Linked DNA regions of Homo sapiens: regions 1 and 2 are each linked to region 3. Evidence: promoter capture Hi-C in human tissues and cell types (Jung and others, 2019). All regions are on one chromosome and are shown on one strand. The core of a region is centred on a gene start or on the middle of the fragment in contact, and the rest is flanking DNA. Distances in the headings are between cores, read along the strand shown. Region 1 holds the start of PTGIR (prostaglandin I2 receptor). Region 2 holds the start of PRKD2 (protein kinase D2). Region 3 holds the start of IRF2BP1 (interferon regulatory factor 2 binding protein 1).

The links. The method cuts DNA at HindIII sites, captures the fragments that hold promoters and counts their contacts. A contact is called where the count stands out against the background at its distance.
Region 1: the fragment with the promoter of PTGIR here is called in contact with the fragment with the promoter of IRF2BP1 in region 3 in 1 of the 25 tissues and cell types used here (spleen).
Region 2: a contact is called between the fragment with the promoter of PRKD2 here and the fragment with the promoter of IRF2BP1 in region 3, in 1 of the 25 tissues and cell types used here (liver).

The regions. Positions count from the first base shown.
Region 1 is chr19:46,623,252-46,626,406 of GRCh38, forward strand. It overlaps PTGIR (prostaglandin I2 receptor), which reads right to left and starts at 1,838. Exons shown (of 3, transcript NM_000960.4): 1 at 1,746-1,838; 2 at 207-986. The coding sequence starts at 974. RefSeq lists an enhancer at 2,053-2,553. The HindIII fragment of the contact is 28,599 bases long and covers 1-3,155 here.
Region 2 is chr19:46,715,733-46,719,222 of GRCh38, forward strand. PRKD2 (protein kinase D2) reads right to left here and starts at 1,382. Exons shown (of 18, transcript NM_016457.5): 1 at 399-1,382. The coding sequence starts at 638. It overlaps LOC107987269, which reads right to left. Exons shown (of 4, transcript XM_017027568.2): 1 at 2,914-3,490; 2 at 2,621-2,770; 3 at 2,067-2,244; 4 at 802-1,445. The coding sequence starts at 3,331. The coding sequence ends at 1,079. RefSeq lists silencers at 1,278-1,327, 1,348-1,507 and an enhancer at 2,628-2,677. The HindIII fragment of the contact is 22,581 bases long and covers 1-3,490 here.
Region 3 is chr19:45,884,864-45,888,122 of GRCh38, forward strand. It overlaps IRF2BP1 (interferon regulatory factor 2 binding protein 1), which reads right to left and starts at 1,278. Exons shown (of 1, transcript NM_015649.3): 1 at 1-1,278. The coding sequence starts at 911. RefSeq lists silencers at 533-772, 813-1,292 and enhancers at 1,453-1,602, 1,753-1,992, 2,053-2,102. The HindIII fragment of the contact is 12,651 bases long and covers 1-3,259 here.

The DNA.
Region 1 (3,155 bases), core at 588-3,087, 740 kb after region 3:
CTCCCAAAGTGCTGGGATTACAGGTGTGAGCCACCGCATCCGGTCCTGCCTCGGCCTTTCTACATGCTGGGATTACAGGCGTGAGCCACCATGCCCACGATGTCTCACCTCTTTTGAGCCTCAGTCTCCCCATCTGTGACATGGGCACAACCCACAGAGCTGCCCTCCTCCTCTCCCCACTCCTCCCAGCTCCGGAGGGGACTCACCGTGAGAGGCAGGGAGCACACGGCCATGACCACTGTCATGAGGGCCAGCAGGATCAGGTGGTCCACCTCGTCCTCTCCGGTGCGCGGCCGTGGACCCAGAGAGCCCTGGTGGCGCTTCTGCTGGCGGTACATGCGGCAGAGGCTGAGGGTGACCGAGCCGTTGCAGAGGAAGATGGCAGCCACCAGCAGGGCCACCAGGCCGGCGTAGGCCAGCGAGAAGGCGGCGCCGCCCGGCTGGGCCCAGCGCATGCGGAGGAAGCACCAGCTGCCGGGGCAGTACTGCTGGTGTTGGCCCAGGCCCAGCAGGGGCAGCGCGCAGAAGAGGACGCAGAAGGCGTAGATGGCTGGCAGCGCCAGGCGGGCGCAGCGGGGCCCGTCCAGCTGCGCGTAGAGGTAGGGGTGGCTCAGCGCCAGGCAGCGCTCCACGGCCATGGCAAAGAGGATGAGCATGGACGCCAGGCCGAAGAAGGTCATGGCGAAGGCGAAGGCATCGCACAGGGCGGGGCCGCCTCGGGCCAGGCCCAGCAGGGAGCTGTTGCGCGCATAGGCCACGAACACGGCCGGGCTCAGGAAGCTGGTGCCCAGCAGGTCGGTGGCCGCCAGTCCGGTCACCAGCACCGCGAAGGCCGAGGGGCGCGCCGGTCGCCGTGCGCTCAGGATGCCCAGGGCCAGCCCGTTGCCCACCACACCGGCCACGAACATCAGGGTGCTGGTGGCCGGCCCCACCGAGCCCCGCACGTAGGTGAGGTTCCTGCACGAATCCGCCATCCCAGGTCTGGGCTGGAGGGTTCCCAAGGTGGGGGGTCAGAGGGAGCCAGGGCTACCCCCACCACCCAGCCCACTCAGATGTCCCTGCTGGCCAGTCCTTTTGGCAGCTGGGGCCTCCCAGCCAACCCCCAGTTCTCCTGTGTGTGCGGGTATGCAGTCCTCTCCCCTCTGGCTTCTCCAGTATCTCTCTCTGTCTCTCCCCACCTTCCTGTTTCTCTTTCTCTCTTTCTTTTCTTTCGTTTCTTTTGAGACAGAGTCTCACTCTGTTGTCCAGGATGGAGAGCAATGGCATGATCTCGGCTCACTGCAACCTCCACCTCCTGGGTTCAAGCGATTCTCCTGCCCCAGCCTCTGGAGTAGATGAGATTACAGGCGTCCACTACCACGCCCAGCTAATTTTTGTATTTTCAGTAGAGACGGGGTTCCACCATGTTGGTCAGGCTGGTCTCGAACTCCTGACCTCAGGTGATCCATCCACCTTGGCTTCCCAAAGTGCTGAGATTACAGGTGTGAGCCACCATGCCTGACACCCACCACCCCCCCACCACCTCCTGTTTCTTTCCTTCTCTAGCTCTGTTTCTGCCATTAAAGAGACAGAGAACATCCGGGCATTGCCAGTTCTTTCCCTCCCTGTCTCTCGGTCTCTTGCTGATATCTCCCTGTCTCTGTCCCCTCCCTTGTCCTTGTCCTCCCCGTACCTTTCTCCCTCTAACCCCACACCCTCTACCTGCTCCTGCTCTGTGTTGCTGCATCCCCAGCCCCTCACCGCACCTCTCCAGTCTTGCCCAGGCTCTCCTGTCCCGTGCGTCTGTGCCTTCACTTGCTTTGCTCCTCGTGTCTCTCGCTGCCTGTGTCGGTCTGTGTGTCAGCTTCTCCTTCCCTCCTCCCTCCGTCCCTCCCTCCTTCCCACCCTCCTCAGCTTGCCTGCTCACCCCAGCTTTTTCATTTCCTCTCTCTGCCCCGCCCTCCCTCACTGTTCTCCAGAGGGCCCCCTGGCACACTCCCCACTCCCCGTCCACCCGCCCAATCCAGGACATCCATCTCCCATCGCTGCCTCCACTCTCCTCCCCACATCCTCTCTTGGTTCCCATCACTGAGCCACCTGCCACCTCCCCACACACAGGTCTCCTCCCTCCCCCAGTGTCTCCCTCTCTGGCCTGGGTGGGGAATTCCTGAGTCACCATCACTTAGGCTTGGAGCCTCCCGGGGTAGTAGGGGGCCTCTAGGAGGGACCTGAAGAGCACAGTTGACCAGGCTTCAGTGGGGTGGTCTTGGCCTGGGCTGTCTCAGGGTGGCCTCTGGGATCTATTCTGGGCTCCAGGCCCCGGGGCTGAGGACATTGCCCAGGGATTGAGAAATGACCAGGAAATTCCTCTCTGATGTAGTGTTTTCCAGACACCACTGAGAGTTCTGGTCCCTGGACACAATTCACTCCTTCCAGAAAGCTGAGGAAGGAGGCTTGGCCAGAGAGAGACATGCCAGTCCCTCGAGCCTGTCCCTGGGCACCCAGCTCACCCTGCAGAGACCCGAGAAGAAAGCATGAAGGGGTGTATTTGGTGTCCAGTTGTCAGGGACAGGCTTGGGAGACTTCCATGGCCCATGATGGAAAGGTAGCACTGGGCCACCGTCCGACTTCTCGCACAGCACCCCTAGGCCCCAGGCCAAGCTCTGGTGACCTTGACCTTCAGGAATCATATTTTGATCACAGGAAGCTGTCCACAGCTCCAACATTGCTGCCATGTGTCCCCCACCCTCCCCAAACACAGCCAAGCCACCACCGCTGCAGCCTCGGGCCAGTGTGACAGACCCACATGTTCCCGCTACCCGCACAGCGTTCACGGGTCTCCCTTCCCACGGAGTCGGTGGCTTCCCAGGCAGCCTCCCAGCCCAAAAGGGCCAGATAAAACCTCAGAGACCCTCTCTGAGCCCCGCTGTTTCTCAGGGGGACGGTCTCAGATCCATTCGACTTGGCTTCCTGTTTCCATCTGACCACCTTTTTTCTTGCTGCGAGATGGTCCCAGGTGAGGAGAGGGAGCTGGTAGACTTCAGCCTCCTTCTCTGTGCGTGGGGTAACACGGGCCTCAGGGACCTGGTGGCCAGCCTCGGCCTGCAGCACATCCCAGATTGGTCTTTGTAACAAGGAGAGAGGCTGTGCGGGTGTCTCTTGTCCAAGGCCAGGAG
Region 2 (3,490 bases), core at 132-2,631, 830 kb after region 3:
ATCACCATGGCCAGCCCGGGTTCAATTTCTCCTGTTTCCACCAAATGGGAGGCCCGGGATGGGCCTGGACGTGGAGGTCCGCCGACATCTGCTGCCCCTTCCTCCCCTCTCTACACCTGGCTGGCCCCTCCCTTCCTCCCTGTTTGCTGCAGAAAACAACGACATGCAGGGACATGAAATTTGGGGAGGCCTCTGGGGCACCCCACCCCTGCCCAGTCCTCTCTCAAAGGGATGGTGGGGAGAGGGGCAATGGAGGGGGGCAATGCCCCCTATCCCTCCATCACCCAAAGCTCAGGTCTCCTTCCTCCCTCTTCCGCACACCAGGCCCCAGACCCCTCTGCCAGCGCCCCCTCCTTCAACCTCTCCCCGAGCTGGATCCAGGGAGCCTGCGCCCTCACCTTCTGGTCCACGATGGAACAGGCCAGCTGCTTCACATGAGCCAGCTCGGAGGCGGCGGGCAACAGCACGAACTCGCGGGTCAGCCCGATCTGGATGTGAAAGGAGACCCCGGAACCCGGGGCCGGGATCTGGGGCAGTAGCGGTGGCGGCGACTGCAGCTCTAGGCCGCCGGGGGGCGGAGGAGACCCCGGCCCGGGAGAGCCAGGGAGCCCGGCGGGATAAGAGGGGGCGGTGGCCATGGGGGGAGGCCGGGGACCGGCCGCCTGGAGCCCACCCGGGACCCGGCCGGGGGGCCCCGGGGGACCCTGGGTTCTAGATCCGCGGGATCTCGTGAGCAGGTGGTGGGAGAGCGGGGATCCGAGAAAAGATCTGGCAGGCGGAGGGGACCTGAGGATGGCGGGGTCCTGGGAAGGAGAGAAAGGCACTATAGTGGGTCAGAGGCCCGGAATCCAGGGCTCCCAGAAGATCAGAAAGGAGAAAAGTAGTGGGTTGGAGGTCCCAGCGATTGAGATTCCAAGAAGCCTGAGAGGAAATCTAGTAGGTCGGGGTCACAGGGATCAGGAGAGCCCGCGATTCAAAGGCCCCTTCCCTAGAGGAGGGATTGAGAAGGGGGCAGAGGGAATCCCAGGATCCAGTGCTCCAAGAAGAGGATCCCACTCAGAAGGCGGCCCGGGGGAATTCACCTTGGGGGTGGAGGGCAGGAGTCTCTGAGTCGGGGACCGAGTGGATTCCAGAGATAAAGGGGTTCGCAGGGACCCGACCGGCCAGGGGATGGGCAGAGGGGTCCCGAGGGCCGGAGTGGGTAGAAGGGAATCTCACGAGTCGCAGAAGTTGGAGAAAAGTTCGGTCGGGAGCCGTGAGGAAGGGGGCGTTGCCGGAGCGGGGTTGGGTGGGGGGCAGGGAGGGTCGCCAGGCGCCAGTAGCTCTTTTTCCCCCTCCAAAGTTTAAGTCGGCGGCGGCGGCGGCGGCCCAGGAGGAAGTGTCCGGAGCGACAGTGCAGTCGACCAATCGGCGCGGGCCTCGGCGACGTCAGAGAGGGGCGGAGCCTGCCGAGGGGCCGGGGGCGGAAGGGGAGGGTGGGCCCGGGGCCTCCGAGTTGGGGGCTGGACCTCCGCCTCCAGGGTCCGGGACAAGGGATGGTGTGAGGGATGGAGGGCAGGCAGGCGAGACCAGTTCCTTCCCTGAACACAGCCAAGCCTGGAAAGTTAACTTTTCCCTCGGCTGGACAGGGAGGGGAAACACTATCACCCACCGCCGGTCGCAGGCGTCGGGCTTGGAGGCCACTGGCCCTTTAAGGAGGGGAGCCCTCTCCGGCAGGCGTCCGGCGCCCATGGCAGGGGACGGGTGGGAAATCGGTATCAGGTCCCGGCCCGCTCTCTGGGTTCGGCCTCTCTGTTCTCCGAGCGTCACCCCTGCCCTCCCCGCCGCGTCCCAGCCCAGGGAAGGGGGTGCTGCAGAGCGTCCCCCGGCCCCAGCCCATTTAACACATGGAAAGACCGAGGCCTCCAGATGGGTAGGAAGGGGCTCGCCTTAGGTCTGTCTCCAGCGATGGTGGGCAAGGTGCATGGCGCTAACTGGATGGGTGGGGAGGGTCCATCCCCCCGCCCACCCCAACCCCGCCTTAGGATAGTGTGGGGCTGCCCCGAGGGAGGACAGCACACCCATACCACTTCATAGATGCAGAGTGTGTCTCCTGGGGATGTGGAGTACGTGTGCGTGTCTTTCTCTCCATGTGACTTTGGGTGAGTGGCTTCTCTGTGAGCCTCAGTCCCTCCATCTGTTGGGACTGTAATAGGACTGACCCCACATGGGATGGTGGGAGCCGATGCCATGGTATACTGGTGCCTGGAAACGCAGCAGTTCAGTAAGAGGTGGTTGTCTCTGATAATACGCGGAAAGGGGTGGCCACCTCCAGCACTCAGGCTTTGATGGGTGGGCACACCCATTCAGTCACCCAGCAAGTATCTGTGAGGACCTACTGGGTGCTGGGTGGGCCCTGCTGTAAAACTCCAGCCGCTACAGGGGTCAGGCTTGATCTCTCCTCCCCAGCTAATAATCAAATAGTGGCTACCATTTAGTTTACACAGAATAAGCTGAAGCCTCAGAGAAGCAAAACGTCTTGCCCAAGATCCCAGAGTGAAGTTGCTTGAGGGAAGCTGCCCCACCCACCCCTTTGATTGACAAGTCAAGGCCTAGGTTTGAGCTCTAAGAGAAGGGCCACCTGTCTGGCTGGGATGCTGGCAGGACTGGAAATGGCAGGGCTGGCTGAGGATGGGGGCTGCCAGAAGAGCCCCTCTTCCTGGTGTACGGCCGTTGGGGGTAGCTGAGGTCGGTACAGTATCGATTCTGTCACCACATCCGGGGGCTGGGGCTGAGGAAGGAAGTCTGAGGCTGGAGTGAAAACCCAAACCACCACCTGGGGAACTGCATTGAGCCCAGAGGGATGGGCAGGGAGCACACCACGTGGAGCCCACGAAGGCTCCCCTTGGCGTCATCTAAGGGCCTCCTGCCCACCTGCACCCTTTTTCCTGAAGGGCAGATGACTGTCCCAGCAAAACGCTGCCATGTCCTGAGTGTCCAGACAGCGGCCTCCATCCTTTCTCGTATGTTCACTGGGGCCTGCTGGGGGACTGGGGCACAGCCCTTTACAACCCAGGAACTGGGCATTAGTGCCCTGTGGCAGAGGTGCTAGGATTACCGAGGACGCCTGGCTGGTAGGTGGTGGAAGCCTCCTCGAGACAGGAGCAGCGGTCCCCTCCGTCTCATCTGGAGCATGTGGACACCTGCTCCCTCTTTTTAAGGCTGTGGACCCAGTGAAATGCCATGTAAAGCACTCAGTACAGTAGACGTGGACCACTGAGAAGGGAAAGGAGGGACGCATCAGGACATGAGCCACGAGGGCTCGGGCACCTGCGGCACCTCCTCCCAGCATGGAGGAGCCTGCGCCCCAAAGCCATCATCCTCCACTGGCAGGTGCAGCCTTTTCCCTCCCTGCTCCTTGTGGGCCTGGGATGGGAACAGGAAGGGGGTTTACGTCCTCTGGGCACCAGCCCTTTGGCCTCGCCACCACCCTCACACATCCCAGGCGGGG
Region 3 (3,259 bases), core at 28-2,527:
GGCTCCCGCAGAGCATCGTGGAACATCTGGCGAGCCACTGCCAGGACGCCGGCGTACACATTGCCGGAACCACAGGGGTATTCGGTGAAGAGCTTCAGCTCGAACTCGTATCCTGGAGGACGGGCAGTAGCATCGAAGGCGAACACTCGCCCCACCAGCCCGTGATCCTTCTTGAAGCGCACATTGAACGGGGCGCAGGCGGACAGCGCCAGTAGCTGTTCCCGCACTGCTTTGGGGCGCCCGTGCCATTCCTCTGCCCGGCCTCGCATGGCCTCGTTCAGTTCTGCCAGACAGTCCGCATTCCTCTGCTGCTTCTCTTTCTCGAAATCGGAGCCGAAGAGGGGACGGGCAGGACTCAAGCCGGGTGCCAGCGTCAGGCCTCGGCTTCCCAGGCCAGACACTGCAGCTGCCAGCAGCCCAGGGGGCATCAAGCCAGGCATGGAGCCAAGCAAGGCCCTTCGCGCCCCCTCAGCCACGGCCTCCTCACGGCCCAGCCCATTGGCCAGGCGGGACCCCAGAGTGTACTCCAGGGCGGGCGAGGGCAGGGGGAGGCGGCCTGATGATGTGGCCCTGTCATAGCGGTCCTGGCCCGACACGCCGCCGCCGGTCCCTGACGGCTGGGGCTGGGCCTGCGGGGGCGGCAGCTGGGGCCCCTGTGCGGCTGCCGCCGCCAGGTCCTTGGTGGCCGGGTGCTTAAGGGCCGGGGGCCCGGGCGAGCGGCCCTCGGGGAGCACGTGGCTGCGCTTGAGCTGGCGGGCGGCATCGATGAGCAGTTCGATGCGGTCCGCGCCCTCGAAGTTCACGCAGCCGCGACACACGGCCTCGCTGAAGTCCCACACCATGGCCCACGGCATCTTGGGCAGGTCGCACAGGTAGCACCACTGGCGGCGGGACGCCTGCACAGACGCCATGGCCCCAGTCCGCGCGCCGCCCAGCTCCCGCGTTCCACCGGCCGCCGACGTGCGATCCGCGCCGCCAACGTTCGATCCGCGTCCCGGGGACAGCGCGAGCCACGGTCCGGCCTCCGGCTCGGCCTCCCCGCCGGATCCAGGCCCGGCCCCCCTTCCCCGCCCCCTGGGCCCTAAGCCTTTCTGCTCACTCCCGCCTCCCTCGCGAAGGCAGGCTGAGGCACGTCGGCGCCCCCGCCCGGTCCGGGCTCCGAGCCGAGGCGCACAGCTCGGGCCCCACGATGGGCCGCGAGCGCCGCCGCCTCGGGCTCCCGCCGCTCTCGCCGCCGCCGCTGCAACGGCCGCCGCCGCCTCCACCTCCTTCTTCTGCCCCAGAGGCCGCTTCGCAGGGAAAGTTACATAACACGCCTGCAAAGCCTTCTGGGAAACGTAGTCCCGCCGGGGCCGGCTCTTAAAGGGAACGGCGGGCAGACGCGGGCTGGGGGGGTTGTCGCCTCTGCCGGCGCAAACCTTACAACCTTCTCCGTGGGGCCGGAGTTCAGCGCGCCGCAAGATGCTGGGACACAAAGGTGGTAGGCGAGGATGCAATACAAATGATCAGAGCTACTCCGGATTCAGAAATTGTGGGGGTGGGTGGACAGGCTTCCGGGCTTCCAACTTCTGCTCGGATTTGCTGTGCAGCTTTAGGCAAAATGTCTTGCCCTCTCTGAACCTCAGTTTCCCCGCCCAGCAAAGGTGGGCCAATGACGGATTAGGAAAGTAGCAGCTTCTGGGGCGGGGCGGAGAAGCCCTGATTGGCTTCAGAGCAGGGACGGGAAGCTGGCAACTAGGTGGGGGTGGGGGTGGCCACCTGGCACTTCGTCCTCCCCCCGGAATCCTAGATATATGCTTCTGGGGCCCGCCACAGCCAGAGAAGGGAGAGGACTAAGGGCTTCCGAGCCAGAGCCTTGTCTCAGTTGTTTCTCTGCTAAAAGAGTGGGGCGACTGGCCGCCCTCTAACCCTGTCCCAGCTCTGCCCGCGCGCTCTGGTCTCTAAAGGGTTACACCATCGGGGGCTCGGCGTCCCCCACCCGCTTCACTACAATTCCCAAAATGCACTGCGGGTCGGACATAGTGACGCACTTCCGCCCTCTGGGAGGTTTGGGGAGGCCTTCCAGATTCACGCTACTTTCCCGGCTACCCCCCGCCCCCCCACTTTTCTGGGGGCTCTTTACGTGCATTCGGAGCGTGGCGTTTGGGGGACCCTTATCTTCTGTTGCTCCCCAGTTTGAGGGAAGAGTAAGGGGTTAAGAAGTGACGGGCAAGAGGAGGGAGTTGCTGGGGAAGGGCAAACACCAGACCAACCTTTCCCCAACCTTGAGCGCTCACTACCTGGAAGGCCCAATCAGGCTGTGAGGACCCTTCTTCTTTCCCAGGCATTGGGAACTGGACGAGGCTGTCTTTGGGGAAGGGCGGAGGCGGGTCTCCAGGTTCCAACCCACAACAGCCCCTTTCTCTAGGCCTGGGTCCGTGTTAGGTGCTCAAAAATATTTGAATGACGTACCAGTTGGCCCTGGTTTTGTCTAGTGAGGGGCTGCTTGTCCCTTCTCCTCCCGTCCCACTGGAACCGCAGCAGCTCTGATTCTGTTACCCAGACCTCACAATTTTAAAATGGTTTCACAATTTTGTCTACTACCTGTATTTGAACACTTTTCTCCCTTAAAAAAAAGATTTATCAGGCTGAAGTGGGAGGATTGCTTGAGCCTGGAGATAACAGGCTACAGTGAACCATGATTGCGTCACTGCACTCCAGCCTGGGCAACAGAGCAAGATCCTGTCTCAAAAAAATAAATAAAAATAAAAAGATTTATCTATTTTTGCCTCATCCTAGGTAATACGTTCACAATCATGGGTTTCATGTACTGTGGTTACCTTAAAAAAAATTAGTGAAAACTATCGACTCATTCAAGAGGACATTAATATGTCACTTAAAGTTGCCTTTGGGCTATTATTTACGAAACACTAATGGGAGTTAAGGCTTCTGGCCAGATTCAGCCTTCAGGTGGACTGGATTGGCCTCTGACCAGCTGTGGCCTTGGGCCAGTTTCTAAACTTCTTGGAAAAAATGGAGACCCCCTCCAGTCTCCTTTTATTTGGGTACCTTCAGATTGAATGCAAACATGCATATAAATGCTTAGCTTGGTGCCTGGCACAGAAAATAAGTGCCACAAATGGAAGTTGTTTTTAAGCTGGACAGTTATTCAAATATTCAACCCCTCTTCCATGCTGGGCAATGCTGGGGACATAGCAGTGACTGAGACAGGCTTTAAGCCTTGCCCCTGAGAAGCCCCAGCCTGGTGATGGAGGCAGAT